2 separate regions of the Homo sapiens genome follow, and region 1 is linked to region 2. The links are contacts of gene promoters, found by promoter capture Hi-C in blood cells and fetal thymus (Javierre and others, 2016). All regions are on one chromosome and are shown on one strand. Each heading gives the region's core, a stretch centred on a gene start or on the middle of the fragment in contact. The rest is flanking DNA. Distances are from core to core; before and after follow the strand shown. Region 1 overlaps ZFP91 (ZFP91 zinc finger protein, atypical E3 ubiquitin ligase). Region 2 holds the start of UBE2L6 (ubiquitin conjugating enzyme E2 L6).

Region 1 (3,022 bases), core at 267-2,766, 1.0 Mb after region 2:
TTTTCTTCAATACTTTTTATGTTGGATTCATTTATCTTAAAATGGTGAGCAACTGCAGCTACACACCTCAACCTTCTATGCTTATTAAGCAATTCAACTTTTTCTTGTAATACCGTGACTTTTCTCTGCTTCTTGGAAGCACTTCCAGTATCACTAGTGGCAACTCTTATGGGTCCCGTAGTGTTAGTCAAGGTTTCAGGTATTGCTCTAAACATAGTGAAAAATGAGTTAACTGAGAGATACCACTTCTACTGTGACAGTAAATTCACTCAGGTGGTGATGATTATCCTCATGACATTTTAAGCAGATACTTGAAACAGCTGAGCTTGCTGCAATAGCAACAGGAGATAGCTATGAAATTATTATGTACGGAGTTAATTTTATGCAGTTATTCATTAGTACATCTTTACGTTTCTTTACATTTCTCTGGACTTTGGATGATACCATATATAGTCTAAGACTTTGTGTGTGTAAGTTTTGTTGAATTTTAACTTTTTATATTTGTGTATATTTTACAGTAATGTCATCAAATAGAGTGGTATCTATAGTTTATGCATTCATGACATAACTTAATTTTTCAATATTTCTAGGCTACACAGTTTGTCTGCAAGTTTTTTCAAATTGTCACAAATCTCCAAAAAATTTTCTTACATATTTTAAAAAACTGGCGTATGAATGGATCCATGCAGTTCAAAGCTTTGTTGTTCAAGGGTTAACTAACTGTAGTTATATTCACTGTGCCTGCATGTTGCTCATGCAGTGACTAGTATGATGTCTTCCTTTACCCAAGCTAGTATGGCTTTTTTCTCTTATTATTTATGTATCAAGGAACCTCCTCAAGGTTAGCTGCTATTATAAGAAACAACTGGAAATTGTCTTTGAAGTACCACACAGAAGAAACTTGGCTTGTTTCCTATCTGTTTATGATTGTTTATGCTAATGTATGGATTGTCCTTCAGTTGTCAATTTCTATTCCAGAAACCTGGCAATACTTTTGTGCACGTGTGTGTGTGTGTGTGTGTGTGTGTGTGTGTGTGTGTTTTGAGGTGAAATTCACATAACAAAAAAATAGTAAAAAATACTTGAAAGCATACAATTCAGTGACATTTGGTACATTTACAGTGTTGTACAACCATCACTTCTATCTAGTTCCAAACATTTTCATCACCACCAACAAAGGAGACCCCTGTACCCATTAAAAGCAGTTATTCCCCCTTCCCTCCTGTTCAGCTGCAACAAACATTAATCTGCTTTGTCTCTATGGATTTACCTATTCTGGATATTATATGTAATTGGAATCATACAATATGTGCAATATGTGACTTTTGTTTCTAGCATCTATCATATAGCATATTTTTAAGGTTCACATTGTAACATGTTAAGATTGCATTCCTTTTTATGGCTGGATAAAAATTTTCGTTGTATGTATATATGACATTTTGTTTATCCATTCACTGGTTAATGGATATTTGGGTTGTTTCCACAATTTGGGTATTGAGAATTGTGCTTCTATGAATATTCATATGTAATAAGTATTTCTTTGAATAGCTGTTTTCAATTTTTGGTGTATGTACCTAGAAGTGGAATTGCTGGATCATATGGTAATTCTGTGTCTAAGTTTTTCTTAACATTTTTCTTAACACTGTTTTCTTAGGTTTTCCATAACACTGTTTTCCTCATTAGCTGCCTCATTTTACATGTCCACCAGCAATAAACAATGGTTCCAATTTCTCTGCATTCTCACCAACACTTCTTATTTTCTTTTTTTATTATTTTTAGTTAGCCATTGTAGTATGTGGGAAATGGTAATCTCATGTGATTTTGATTTGCATTTCGTTAATGACTGATGTTCCGTATCTTTTCAAGTACTTTTTTGGCCTTTTGTATATCTCTGGAGAAATAATCTGTTTAGGTTCTTTGCCCATGTTTTAATTGGGTTGTTTCTCTTTTTGTTGTTAAATCCAAAGACTTTATATATTTTGGATATTAGACTTTTACCAGATATATGACTTGCAAATATATTCTCCCATTCTGTAGGGTTATCTTCACTTCTATGCATTTTTTAGTGCTAGCTCCTGTGTTTAGGTCTTTGATCCATTTTGAGTTAATTTTTATATATGGTATAAGGTAGGAATACAACGTCATTTTTTGCATGTGGATATCCATTTGTCTTAGCACCATTTCTTGAAGAGACTGTTTTCACCTACTGAATGGTCTTAGCCACCTTCTTAAAAATCAGTTGACCACAGATGTATAGATTTATATCTGGACCTTTAATTCAGTTAGTTGATTCAATTATTATTAGTTTTATGCCGGTAATACATTGTATTGATTACTGAAGCTTTATAGTAAGTGTTGAAATTGAGAAGAAAAAAGTGCGTCTTTAATTCTGTTTGTTTTCAAGATGGCTGTGACTAGTGTAGATCCCTTGCATTTTCCTGTGAACTTTAGGATTGGGTTGTCAATTTCTACCAAAAAGGAAGCTGGGGTTTTGATAAGAATTACAGTTAATCTGTGGGTTTATTTTCAGAGTATTGTCATCTTAACAATTTTTCAATATTTTATTCCTTTTTATTCTATTGTAAAGGTAATCATTTTCTTAATTTCCTTTTTGTTCATTGCTAATATACTTAAAACAATGAATGTTATATGTTGGTCATATATTCTGGCACTTTGAATAAAGGTAATAATTATTTTCTTAATTTCCTTTTTGTTCATTGCTAATATGCTTAAAACAATGAATGTTACGTGTTGGTATTATATTCTGGCCCTTCGAATTTGTATATGACCTTTAACAGTTTTCTTTTGTGAAAATTCTTTAGAATTTTCTATATGTAAGGTCTTTTCACCTGCAAATAGAGATACAGTTTTACTTCTTCCTTTTCACTTTGGGTGCCTCTTTTTTTACTTGAGTAATTACTTGGCTAGAACTTCCAGTACAGTGTTGAATGGAAGTGAAGAATGAGGGCATCCTTGTCTTGTTCCTGACCTTAGCAGGAGAGCTTTGTCTTTTACCACTGCG
Region 2 (2,700 bases), core at 47-2,546:
TTTCATATTCCAGTCCCATTGCTCCTTACTGAAAGACTCTGGACAAGCAAGTTATTTCCTCTGTGCCTCAATTTCCTCATTTGTAAAATGCGGGTATATATTACTTATCTCACAGAACTGCTGTGCGAATTAGATGAAATAACCATGTAAACCGTTTGGCATGTAATGGTTCCAATGCAATAAATTCTGGCTCCCATCTCTCTTCCACTTGGCTGGAAAGACCCTCTGCCTCATTTTGCTGCCAACCTCCAGATTTAGTATCTAGGCCAAGCCTGCTCTGGGCATCCCAGTCTGAGGCCATTTTCTTCTCAGAGGCTGAGGGTAGCAGGCACCCTCTTCCTAGAGCCTGCCCCTCCACCCTGCAGACTGGAAGGGGCACTTCTGAAAGACTTGGGGTGCCAGACTCACTTCACCAGGATCACCTTCCTCCCTAATCCATCTCCAAACACCCTGGGTTTTCCCACCTTCTGGAGGAAACTGCCCCCTCCCCATCCTTCCAGATCTTATTTCAAATTGTGTCCCTGATAGGAACAAAATTCAACAAGGGCCGGATTTGTGTTCATCTCTGCCCGCCCCCCCCCCCCTCCTAGAACAGGGCCAGCACATGTAGGCATTCAACACTTGTAGAACTCACGAACGCAAGCCACCTACTCCAGGAGGCCTTCCAGGTCCACCTCCGCATCTTTTCCTCCAGAGAATACTCAGGGAACTTTGTCCCAAATTCTAATCAGCATTCCGTGTTTCTCAGGACTCTAGTAATACAGGCATCAAATTATGGGATGGGCTATGGGCTTATTCCAAGGCAAGGACTTCATCCTGGTCATCTGTGTTCATAACCCACCACCAGCAGTAGCAGAATGCCTGGCACCAAGATGCCAAGGACTTTTCCTGCACTGGAGATGCACCCAGTTGTTATCACAAGTTTCAGGCAGGAAAAGCGAAATTGAAACCAGTTTTGGGGGAGCCGGCTCATCTTCACCACGCGAACGGCTCAAGCAGAGGCCTCCAAACCCCCAAAACCCCAGCTCTGGCCACTCTTGCAGGCCAGTCCTCCTCTGAGTAGAGGGCGGGGAGGACAGGGATTCAGCCAGCCCTGGTGCCCAGACAAATAAATAAATGTGCTCGGAGAGCCGCGGAGGGGATGGAGGGAGGAGGGAATGCGGGAGGCGAGGGGAGCCAAGAGAAAGGGGTCATCCTATACGCGGTTACCTTCACCACTCGCATGCTCGCCATCATGTCGGGACCGAGTGTGTGGCACCCGTGGCCTCCAGCAGGACCGAGCTCCGACCCGCGACACAGCGCGCCCCGCCCCGCCCCGGGGACCCCACCCCCGGCAGCCCCGCCCACCCCTCCTCCAGCCGTCGCTGCGTGGGCCTCCCCGCACCCGCTCCGGCGAGGCCAGGAGGCCGTCGAAGGACGACCCGCCGGACAACCGCCCGATCCCCGCGCGGAAGGCTCGGACCCGGGACTCACGGTCTTTGTGCGGAGACGGGGGCGGGCCTCGGGGCGCACGGCTTTGCTGATCCCTGCCTCCCGCGGGGTGCGCCGTGCACCGGCGGCGAGCGCTCAGGGGCGCTGGGGGGCGCTCATACGGGTTCCAGTCTTCGCTCCGCCGGCGGCCGCACCGGGAGCTCTCCGGTCTTTGTCAGCCCCCTGCACGCCGCCCCAAATACACACTCGCCCTGAATAAATAAGGGATGCTCGCTGTACAGACGCAGCTCCGTGACAGTTCTCAGCGGCCTCCACTATCGGACTGCCGCCTTGAGCCCCTGCCCCAGCAAGCTGCCGGAGCCGCCGAGCCTGCCGCCTTCCCTCCATGGGCCCAGCGCTCCATCTCCGAAACTGCGTGGGGGATGGCGTAGACCTGTGCCCTCCGAGCACCGCTCCCCGGCAGTCGGGGATCCTTTGTGCTGCCCGGCGTTCGGCGCGGGCTGCAACGTTTCTCCCCGTGGCTTGGGGCAGAGCACCGCAAGGAGGCGCTGTTGGACCCTTTCTCTTTTGCTTTGGGGGTTCGGTCTACCATCATTCAGTCCTTTACTAGGTTTAGTATTTACTAAGTGCCTACTGTATGCTGGTTTGGGAAACAGTTGGTGGGGGAAGCCCCAAGAAGGACTCAGGAGCCTCCTTTCCAAGAGAGAGTCTGCTTCCCCTCCCTTACTTTACTACTGGTCCATTACAAGCTGTGGGCCTAATGTGTGCCCCCATGCACAGCTGGAGTCCCCAACCCTCTGTGCAAGGACAGAGTACTTGCAGCCCCTGAGCACCAAGCAGCATCTGGGGAAGATGAGACTTGTTGGGAGGGCCGATCCCCTCCTTCTCACCCTTCCCTACCCCCGTTTAGTCCAGACGAGAAAGGAAATCAGTATATTTTGAGCACCAGTTTGTGATCTCAGTACCTCACAGTTTTTTTGTTTCTTGTTTTTCTGACAGAGTTTCACTGTCGCCCTGACTGGAGTTCAGTGGCGATATCGGCTCACTGCAACCTCCGCCTCCCGGTTCAAGCTGTTCTCGTGCCTCAGCCTCCTGAGTAGCTGAGATTTACAGGCGCGCGCCACCACGACCGGCTCATTTTTGTATTTTTAGTAGAGTCAGGGTCTCGAGCTCCTGGTTTCAAGTAATCCACCCGCCTCGGCCTCCCAAAGTGTTGGAATTACAGGCGTGAGCCACCGTAATGTTTTTATCCAAGTATTTTGAAACCAA

What was found. The method cuts DNA at HindIII sites, captures the fragments that hold promoters and counts their contacts. A CHiCAGO score of 5 or more calls a contact.
Region 1: a fragment that was not itself captured here is called in contact with the fragment with the promoter of UBE2L6 in region 2 in 1 of 17 cell types (naive CD8 T cells); the score reaches 5.1 in naive CD8 T cells.

What each region holds. Positions count from the first base shown.
Region 1 is chr11:58,597,748-58,600,769 of GRCh38, forward strand. The region is part of intron 2 of ZFP91 (ZFP91 zinc finger protein, atypical E3 ubiquitin ligase); the gene reads left to right. The region is part of intron 2 of ZFP91-CNTF (ZFP91-CNTF readthrough (NMD candidate)); the gene reads left to right. Among named protein-coding and RNA genes, the nearest start is that of ZFP91-CNTF, 20 kb to the left of the region's middle. The HindIII fragment of the contact is 1,645 bases long and covers 695-2,339 here.
Region 2 is chr11:57,566,376-57,569,075 of GRCh38, forward strand. It overlaps UBE2L6 (ubiquitin conjugating enzyme E2 L6), which reads right to left and starts at 1,297. Exons shown (of 4, transcript NM_004223.5): 1 at 1,210-1,297. The coding sequence starts at 1,236. RefSeq lists an enhancer at 1-47 and a silencer at 1,301-1,660. The HindIII fragment of the contact is 19,025 bases long and covers 1-2,700 here.